Regions from separate parts of the Homo sapiens genome. Here region 1 is linked to region 2. Evidence: promoter capture Hi-C in 16 types of primary human blood cells and fetal thymus (Javierre and others, 2016). All regions are on one chromosome and are shown on one strand. The core of a region is centred on a gene start or on the middle of the fragment in contact, and the rest is flanking DNA. Distances in the headings are between cores, read along the strand shown. Region 1 overlaps APOBEC2 (apolipoprotein B mRNA editing enzyme catalytic subunit 2). Region 2 holds the start of TREML2 (triggering receptor expressed on myeloid cells like 2).

Region 1 (5,287 bases), core at 1,285-3,784, 140 kb before region 2:
GGGGGTGAGGGAATCCTGCAGGGAAATAAGTCAAGTTTACTCATATCTTTGGCATCTGCTGCTCATCCCTAGGCAGCCAAGGCCCTGGGATACCAGGGATTCCCCTGCAGCCCAGGGAGTCTGTTGACTTCTTTGGGGAAAGAGAAGAGGTGGAGACAGGCAATAGTAGAATTAATGGTGCCATAGGTATCTCTTGGGGCAGGCAGAGAGATTACATTTTTAAAAAGGAAAACATTGAATCTTTCTAGCTGGTACTCATCTCCTCCTCTCTTGACATTTTTCATCTCTCCTATTAAAAATTCATTTTCTTTGGACTTCAAACTTGAACAAATCTTGCCTATTTTAGAAAAACACACACATACACATAAAAGTAAAAACAATCTTCAACTCTGATGTCTTCTCTGGCCCTTCTCTTTTTTCTTCTCCTTGTTATTACCAAAATTTTCAAAATTCCTGGACTTTTCCTGCTGTTTTCATTTCCTAACCATCCATCTCCTCCTCAAAGGCACCCACACAATTCATCACCAAGTTTAGTGTCCTAAGATACCTACTGGACTTGTTCAATTTGAGGCTTTTCCTCAGCTTCACACTATCTGCCTATTGCCAAGACTGTAATCTTGCATGGACATCATTTTTATTGTTTTCCTTCTCAAGAACCTGTAACAATTCTCTACTGCCTCCCGAATCAAGGCCAAACTTTCGAGAACCTTCATAATACTTCCTTTACTGTACCTATCCAATTTTAGCAGTCTTATAATGTTCTCAGCTGTTTTATTTACATCTTCTCTGTCCAGCTGCAATCTAGCTGCTAAATTATAAGCATCTGGAGGGCAGAGACCAAGTCCTTTAAGATTTGGAGGTGACTCAATACTAAATACAGGCTTAACTATCCCAAGATACCCTTGAGTAGTCTGTCCTCACAGATAAAAATTCTTGGACACTTAGCATGTGACAATCCCTTTACCTGAAAGTAAACAGACTTGAGAAGTAGTCACTTGAGAAGGAGAGCATGTTATTGCAAGTTTTAGGCCATTTCATGCCAAGATGCAATTTACATGAGTTACAAGGAAGAGAAAAAAGCATAAAATGCTCTGCAAAATCTTTGTTTTGCTCTGTCATGAGAAATTTTATATGCTTGCTACTTACCTGGCCACTTATTGGAATCATCCAGAGAGCTTTTTAAAAATACTGATGCTTGGACCACCTCTCCACATGTTCTGATTTAATTGGTTTGGCATGAGGCCCAGGCACTGACATTCTCAGTCTTCTAGGTGATTCTAAGGTATAGGCAGGTTAAAGATTCAGTGATTTAGAAATGTAGGGGTATGTTGTGCTGGAAGAGTGATGGTGGAGACAATGTCCTAGTAGGGTGACCAAAATGCACACCTCAGTCCAAATTCTCCTCTCCTTCAGATAAACCCTTCTGGATTTTTTAATGCTTTTTTTTTTTTTTTTTTTTTTGTCACTGATGTTACCACAGACAAGACCTATTTATAGTAAGAGTGAATGCATTTCTGAAGTACTGACCTGGAAGAGCTACCTACTCTAGGCTGGTTCTAGAAACAAGAACTTATCATTCTTTCCTGTCCTTTTGTCTCCTTGACCTACAGAGAACGGCTGCCTGCCAACTTCTTTAAATTCCAGTTCCGGAATGTGGAGTACAGTTCCGGGAGGAACAAGACCTTCCTCTGCTATGTGGTTGAAGCACAGGGCAAGGGGGGCCAAGTGCAGGCATCTCGGGGATACCTAGAGGATGAGCATGCGGCTGCCCATGCAGAGGAAGCTTTCTTCAACACCATCCTGCCAGCCTTCGACCCAGCCCTGCGGTACAATGTCACCTGGTATGTGTCCTCCAGCCCCTGTGCAGCGTGTGCTGACCGCATTATCAAAACCCTTAGCAAGACCAAGAACCTGCGTCTGCTCATTCTGGTGGGTCGACTCTTCATGTGGGAGGAGCCGGAGATCCAGGCTGCTCTGAAGAAGCTGAAGGAGGCTGGCTGTAAACTGCGCATCATGAAGCCCCAGGACTTCGAATATGTCTGGCAGAATTTTGTGGAGCAAGAAGAGGGTGAATCCAAGGCCTTTCAGCCCTGGGAGGACATTCAGGAGAACTTCCTATACTACGAGGAGAAGTTGGCAGACATCCTGAAGTAGGGCAACTGGGCTTTGCCTCACGTGAGTTTTCCTGGTGCCATGGCACCAACACTTTATTATGTTAACTCCAGTAGAAGGTGTGAGGTCAGGTAGAATCTGTGATATGTCTGATTTTCCTTTGGAAGGGTTTCATTTCTCTGCTTTTGACTGGTTGCAAAAATAGTTTAGAACATGTCTCTTTCCTCTGAATCCCTCTCTAAACTTTTCCCTCCCACACTTTTGTATCAAAGTAACTTTCCCCTAACTTAGAATACTCAAGGTTGACAGGAATCCTAAAACTTTCATGAGGCAAGATGACGTTCTTTGGTAAGATTTAGATGGTGCAAGCACCTGCTACTGAACCACAGCAGAGAAGATACTGAAATCCTCTGAGTATGCCCCTGTGTACATGTCAGGGATTACTAATTCCAGACATCTTCTAGATGCCTCACTCCCATATCCACTGGCAATCTTACCATTCCATTTTTCTCTAATGAATGTTTTTTAGTCCTTCAGGGACAATTTTTTCACTTATGGTAATTTTGAAATTCCCCAAATGGACTGGTATTTAACTTGTTTTAAGCCAGACCTGCTTTCATGTTTTCAAACAAATGGCTACACTTTGAAGGAGACCAACAATTGCTGTGTGAAAATACAATACGGGAACATTTTCCTTATGTTGAGAAGACCTCAGTAGAATTCATGGAGGATGTCGAATGCAGGAATGGGGATAATATAGCAACAAGCTAGTCCATGCAGGAACATTTAAAGAGTTAAAAAGACATTTGTAAAGTAGGCAGCAGCTCAGAAGTAACCTCTTACAGATATCAAGAGGTGATAGGAGAAAGATTAGCTATTTAAGCAAATAATTAGGACACAATTAAGGCCAATTTGGCCTCTTGCTGAGGGTAAATTAAACTCTAACAGAAACAGGCTAATTACCCTCAGGAAAGAGGGCTAAAGGATCCTTTACTATCTTTTTTACATTTAGTCTGATTGAGTTTGCGCCTACAGAAATGCTATGACGAAGCCCCCTTTGCAAGGCCCCAGTTACTGATCAAAATCTTCCAGTAATAGAGGAGGGGTACTCACGACACTCTTACCCAACTTTAATCCTGCAACAACTCACATATTACTAAAACATGAAAACAACAAGCTTCCATGAAGATAATTTACTTTTGGTCTCTCTCACTCCTAACACCCTTAAGAGAAGATGTCGCTTCATAGACACGTTTAGGAAATATCAATGTTCCAGAGCTTGATGTTGGCAGGTGTTTTCTATTAGACATGCACATGGGCACCTGATCATTCTCAAGCTGAGCATTTGCCAACCCATGAAGATACAACTTTCAGCCATTTCTTTTAAAAAGCAGGACCCAGTCACTGAAGTCAGTGAGCCTATGATAGGGTATACTGTGTGGTACTCTGCTCACATAAAATAAGACACTTTATAGTGGTGAACAGTAGTCAAAACAGATTTCTGAGGGTGCCCTCTGAGAATATAAAATTTAACTTTTAGAATTCCTTGAAGATTTTGTTAGTGTATGTACTATCACTGTAATTATAAACCCAACATAGATTCTACAGACTAACCGGCAGCTTAAAATTTAACCCCAGTATATTTTCCTTTCAGACATCTTTCAGAGTCAAGGGCCCAGGTGCCTAACTAGCAAGTCCTTAGAGCTTTTTTTTTTTTTTTTTTTTTTCAGTGATTTCAAATATAACTGTATTATCTGGACCCATTAACATGCTTCCCTGTCTTCTATTTGAATTGCTCATGTTTGTGAAGGGAAAGGTTAAGATATATCAAGTTAAAAAAAAAAAAACTGGCATGAGATAAGAGTGTAATCTAAAAGCCCAAAAGAACAACCCTGCTTAATTAAAATAATCTTGAGAAATGAGCATTTGTTAAATAAAGTGTCTTATTTTACATACTTATTTCATCTTTCTTTTTTTTTTTTTTAATGACAAAATAGTATTTAATCCTATATTTAGTCAAAAGACCAGAGTTAAACCAGATCTCTTCTGGGGCTTTTTCTGTGTAAACCACATCAAAACATGAACGAAAGACTGGCTTCTGGTTTAGTCAATCCTGGTAAATTTACCCAATCCTGCAAAGGAAACTATGGAGGAGAAATCCAGGGACTTGTTGGGAAGGGCACACAGAAACCTTAGTTCAAAAAGAAACTAGTCATTGTTCGGGGCCAGCAGAGCTCTCAGTAACACATTTTCTTTGTTTGTTTTACCAAGGTATTCCTGCTGCCACCAAGAGACAGCAATGACATGTACAGCCATCTGGGACATGCCTGTCTTCCTAATACCATTTGGAGCTGGACAACATTTGACACCAACCAATCATACTGGACAAGGCCCTTAGAGGACTTGAAATATACTTCTCATGCTGTAGTTTATTTAGGCTGTGACTCTCTCTCTAATGCTGCTCTCGGGAAGGACGAAAGTGACCTGCAAGGAGAGAAATGCAACCATACATGGGCTCCAGTCAACTATGGGACTGAAGGTCCTAATTGCTCACCCAAGGGGGCTGCTTAACACAAACAGCCTCAGACCCGAGGTTTAGATTTCTGAAATATGCATTTTATGTTAAGTTGGGTATTTTTTTAAAAAAAGAAAAACAGCAACATTAATAAAAGAAGTGGTGTGTTTTTCCCGTGGCCAGATTTTTAAGAAACTTGAACATCTGGAAGTTGCCACAGACAAGCGAGCTAGTCCAGACACAGGGACACTCCAGGCTATGAACCAAGCCATGGTTAAACCAAGACTTGCCTAGACAATGCAGAATAACTCTCCCATACAGACTTCTTACGACAATCAAGTGAGGGCCTTTCCCTTCTCTGAAGGCAAGTAATAGGGCAGAAGGTGGAACAAAAAGCATGAGAAATCTAAGGTAGCCACATCCCAAATGCCAGTTAATAAGCAACTAGCTTCTTTATTAGAGAGGAGCGGGTGAAAAGTAGTAGTTTAATGTTCAGATATACAATCATTTAAAAGTATTCAATACATGGTGTTTGATGGTAATGGCAGGATGATGTCAAGTCTCTCTTTTTTTTTTTTTAAAGGTTTGTTTGAGTCCTATGTGGAAGCAAAAATTCACAGGTGAATTTCCGGGTGTTTGCCAAACTCTAACTAGGTTTCC
Region 2 (5,193 bases), core at 1-2,500:
GTGAGAATAGCACCACACCCCTCACAGGTTGCTGTGAGAATTCTGCCCCAGGTCAGTGCTTTGCACACAGTGCATGCTCAACTCATGCTTCCTTTTCCCACATGCTGGGGCCTCCCAGTTCCCCCAATGGAACCCAGAGCTGTGACAGTCAAGGGCCCAGAATCCAGGACATCTGTCCCACCAGAATCCAGGATATCCGTCCCAAGTCCCAGCCAGCAGCCACTAGAGCTGAGGCTCTGTGTGAAGCAGCACCCTCTCTAAGCATCCCTCTGTCCCTTGCAAACTAAACAGAATGATCCAACTTCATTATTTGGTGGATGAGCCCAGGATTTCTTAGCACAAGAGAGACCCCTTTCTGCCCTGGCAGTGGGAAGCTGTTTCTCTACCCTCTGGGAGGTGCAGAGTTGGGTGACCTTGGGATGGGTCTCCAGGGCAATGTCTTCATGTGTGCCTACACCTCCCACCCCTCTCACAGGCAGTGGTGAGTTTTGCCAACCCCCACCATGCCCAGAACTGAACAGGAAGTGGTAACTTGGTTGCCATGGCAGCGAGAGGGGCAGGAATGGGTGAGGTTCCTCAAGGAGCATTGGTATCTGTGAGGTGGGAAAGGCATTCACACACTGGTCCCTTCAGGACAGAGGCAGGGACAGGATGTGGCATCAGCATTTCAAGAAAAATGTTCAAATTCAGTTCAAAACACACATGATGCAATGATTGCTGTCATAACTAAGCAGGGCTTCCTGACAGAGGCCAAGCAGAGAAAGCTATTTGTGTGAGGAAATTGAGGGCTCTGCTTTAAAGCCTGAGGAAGCCTAGCAGATAAAGGAGCCAATGCAGAGAGGGTCCAGAGCTTTATCTTGGCTTGGGAGGCCTGGGTTAGCTTCGCCTGGGGCCTGATATTAGGGTAAAGAGCTAAGTCAGCCCTAATCTCCTCCTTCCCCAACCCACAAAACACTAAACAAGAAAACTGCTGGTAAGGAGGGTAAGAAAAAGGCCCTGAGCTCCTGCCTCTGTACCCACTCCCTCCTCCACAAGTCAGCCCCTTCTCCCCTCACCTGAGACGCAACCCTGTGGCCACAGCAGCAGCAGCAGCAGGAAGGCTGGGGCCATGGTTCCATCCAGCTGGGCAGTGTCAGGCCTGGAGATCCAAGGTGAGGGCCCACCCGACACAGGATGTGCCACCTGGGCCTGCCAGGGAAGGACCCGGGGTTCTAAAAGTGAAGCTGCCCATTTAGGGAAGTGAGGCAGTGTGGGACCCACTGCCCCCAGCCAACCGCAGGGATTCATTGAGCCTATTATGAGGGCGGTGCTGGCAGCTGTTTCCGCCCTTTTCCTCGGAACTTCAGGCAGGTGTGGCTGCTCCACCCAGTCTGGGGCCCCAAGCCGGGAGGACTCACAGTCAGAGGGCTCCCCGCCCTCCCCAACCTCCCCCAGAAACTGGTCCCTAGGATCCAGCAAGGGGGCTGGGGTGAGGCTTCTGGAACGTCAGGTATAGACCTTCCTGGAATCTTCTGGGCTCAGAGACCCAGGGGTGCGGGCTCTTAGGCTGAGATGGAGCATCTCAGACCCTAGTTTCTTACATATATACATTCACAGGGAAGTTCTTATAAACTCTCATTCATTCATTCATTGCAGATTCTTTCTGTTCCTTCCTCTCTCTCTCTCCCAGGCTCCTGGCTGCTCAGAACAGTCACTTGTGTTCACTGTTGCAAATAACCTCTTACAGGCTCACTTGAAATCTTACTTTTGTCAAGCGGGAAAAATGCAAATTGTTAAGACTCAGGGCATAAATTTTGGGTTGAGGGAGGGGTTCCTGTACTCTCACACACAGGTGTGCATGCACATGCACTCACACTCACAGTCTCACTTTGTCTTTTATTCACTTTCACACACACACACACACGCCCATGCACACAGTCTCACACACACCCCAGCAGCCTCTCCTTTTCCCTATCCATACGTCTCCTCTCTCTGTCCCTCTCCCTGCCTCTCCTCCTGTCGACTCTACTCACCATCAGCTCCCTCTAGACTCCTAGTCCCTCGTGCAGGCTTCCTACAGCCTCCGCAGTACTTCCCCTCACCCACCTCATCTCAAGACCCCCTTCCTCCCCTGCCTCCAGCCTACGTCAGCACGCAGGCAAGTGCCCTCCACTTCCTCCTGCTCAATGCTATCTCGCCTGTACAGCCACCAGCTCCAGTGGAAATGACCCAGCACTAGGCCCAAGACCACACCCTTCACTTACCCCAAGGCCTAGAATCAGAAGCATCAATTTTTGATGTCCGGTACCTGTGTCATCTGCTCCTTCAGTGTGTGGGGACCCAGCTGGACTCCCGTGATTATGTATGCTCCCCCTACTCACTAGTGCCATGTTTCTACTCCTTAGATGGGACTGTCAAAAGGTAAACTGAGGCACAATAAAATTTTAAACAGATTATTTCAGCAAACAACAATTCATGAATCAGGCAGCTCCAAACAGAAGAGGTTGAGGAGCTCCACTGGGGGAATGCAAGGGGAAGACTCCTACAGGACAAGTAAACTGAAGAAAATATTTAATTAGTTATAGTTATATAGTTCCCTTATTTGGCCTATCCTGTTGGAAAGACCCTAGTTAATTATATAAGTTTCTTTTGATTGGTTGAGCTTAAGTTCTATTTTTCCTTAATATACACATTTACAAGAAATAGCTCGTGTTAAGTTTCACTGATATTTGCAAATCAAGCAAAGTTGAGGTCACTTATGAGGCCTAACTGTTTTTTTAATTTTTGCTCAGGGACTCTTCAGGCCTGGTCTCCATTTTCATTAATTTTAACAGGACTCAGAGCAAAAAGTCCTCAAGCTTGCATGGCCACAATCTTAAATTGACCTTGAAGCCCCAAGCTCCAAGCAAAGAAGTCTATCTCGGCTGACCCTAAGCTTTTGTAGTCTCTCAACTCATTCACTCACTCATTAATTCATTCATTCATTTGTTCATTCCCACAACCTCATTGCTATGCATGGGGCTAGGTAGGCACTGGGGGCGTAGGAATGAGACACGATTGTCACTTGAGACCTCTCAGCTCACAGACGTGTTTTGTTTTCCTTATTCACCCTTCCTTTTTCAATGTTTCTCACCCAGTCCTCAGAACTTCCTGAGCTCCCTGAGTTCAGGGGCCATCTCCCCTCCCCAGCACACACAGTAAGTTCCTCCATCCCTTCCCCCATCAGAACAGTAAGTTGCTTCAGGAGTGGGGGATTTATCTCTTGTGGGGACTTTATGCGCTTGGAATCCATGATTCTATGAAACTGATACAGTGCGCCCAGCACTGAGCCAATCATCGTCTAAAGTGTGACCCTTGGGATCACTGTGCTGATGAGGGTAGAAAGAATCAAACATTCATTCGCTGATCGAGGAAGTATGCACTGGATTCAATCTTTCTTAAGAGAAATTTGGAAGCATTGGTCAAAATCATTAAAAATACGTATACATTAGACTTTTACATCTATCATTTGATTTAATACAGCAGTGTATTTTGTCTTTATATTTATTTTTCCCATTTAAAAATTAAGGCCTAATTTACATACAGTACTATTCACCCTTTTCAGTGACGAGTTCTGGGAGTTCTAGAGACTTGTATCCAATGCCGTAATGGAGACAGAGAAGAGTGCCATCATCCCGAAAAGCTTTCCTCTGCTCCTTGTTAGTCATCCCTTCAGTCCCAGACAAACACTGATCTGGTGGGGTTTTTTCCTGTCATTTCTCTCTTTCCAGAATGGAAAAGTGAAGCACTTTATGTTGATTTATTCTGGTGAAGTCCAATATATAATTTTTATGAATCAATTTTTATGTCATATCTAATAAATCTTTGCTTAACCCAAGGTCACAATGACTTTTTTCAACAATTCTGTGAGCTATAATTCACATAATATAAAACTGACCCATCTAAAGCATACAATTCAGTGGTTTTCAATATATTCACTGAGTTGTACAACTAACACCAATTTTGCAGGATTTCCCCACCCAAAGAAACCCCATGCCCGTTAGCAGGCACTCCCTGGATCCGTTTACTGCAGACTTGGTGGCTTAAAACAGTATTAAGTTATTGTCTCGCCATTCTGAAGGCAGAAGTCTGAAGTCAGTTCACACTGTATTGAGATGAAGATGTCGACAGGGCTGCAGTCTCTCCAGAGACACTAGGGAAAAATTTGTTCCTTGCCTTTCCAGCTTCAGGTAGCTGCCAGCATTCTTTGGTTTGGGGCTGTTTTACTCCAATCTTCAAGGCCAGCATCTTCAGTCTCCCTCTGCTCCATCTTCCCATCACTTTCTCCTCTTTGTGTTCAAATCCCACTCTGACTCTCTTACATAAGGATACATGTGATTGCATTTAGTTCCCATCTACGTAATCCAGGATAATCTCACCATCTCAAGATGTTTAACTCACTCATATCAGCAAAGATCATTTTTTTTTTGTTTTTTGCCATATAAGGGTAACAATCACAGGTTCCAGGGATTAGGACACAGATATCTTTTAAGAGACCATTTATCAGCTTACCACAGTCCCCATTCCTACAGTCCCAGGCAACCACTAATATTTTTGTCTTTCTAGACAAAAATATCTTCAATCAAAAATGCCTTTATCAATTCTGGATATGTCATAAAAACATAATTGAACAATATGTGTTCCTTGTGACTGGATTCTTTCATTTGGCATGTTTTCCAGGTTTGTCCATGTTGTAGCTGTACTTGTGCTATACGTTGTATTAATACATCATTCCTTTTAAAGGCTGAATAATATTCCACTGAATGGATATATATGTTTACCATTTATCAGTTGACAAATATTTTATTTGTTTCCACTGTTCAACTATTATAAGCAGTGTTACTATGACTATTCATGTACAAGTTTTTGTGTGGACATACGTTTTCATTTCTCTTGAGTACATAACCAATAGTAGAACTACTGGGTCATATGGCAACTCTATGTTTAACATTTTCAGGAACTACCAATAGTTTTCCAAAGTGGCTGCAAATTTTACACCCTCTCCAGCAATGTATGAGTTCTCATTTCTCTACAATCTCTCCAATACTTGTATTGGCTTTCTGTTTACAGCCATCCAGTGAATGTACTTAAGTTTTGAATTGTAGTTACCTAATGACTAATGATATTGAGCATCTTCATCTTGAGCATGCACAATTTGCTCATTTGTATACCCTT

What was found. The method cuts DNA at HindIII sites, captures the fragments that hold promoters and counts their contacts. A CHiCAGO score of 5 or more calls a contact.
Region 1: a contact is called between a fragment that was not itself captured here and the fragment with the promoter of TREML2 in region 2, in 1 of 17 cell types (neutrophils). The highest score is 5.1, in neutrophils.

What each region holds. Positions count from the first base shown.
Region 1 is chr6:41,059,718-41,065,004 of GRCh38, forward strand. APOBEC2 (apolipoprotein B mRNA editing enzyme catalytic subunit 2) reads left to right here. Exons shown (of 3, transcript NM_006789.4): 2 at 1,611-2,175; 3 at 4,384-5,174. The coding sequence ends at 2,154. OARD1 (O-acyl-ADP-ribose deacylase 1) reads right to left here. Exons shown (of 6, transcript NM_001329686.2): 6 at 5,055-5,287. Among named protein-coding and RNA genes, the nearest start is that of APOBEC2, 9.2 kb to the left of the region's middle. The HindIII fragment of the contact is 1,506 bases long and covers 1,782-3,287 here.
Region 2 is chr6:41,199,899-41,205,091 of GRCh38, forward strand. It overlaps TREML2 (triggering receptor expressed on myeloid cells like 2), which reads right to left and starts at 1,251. Exons shown (of 5, transcript NM_024807.4): 1 at 1,056-1,251. The coding sequence starts at 1,110. RefSeq lists an enhancer at 1,470-1,539. The HindIII fragment of the contact is 14,567 bases long and covers 1-2,835 here.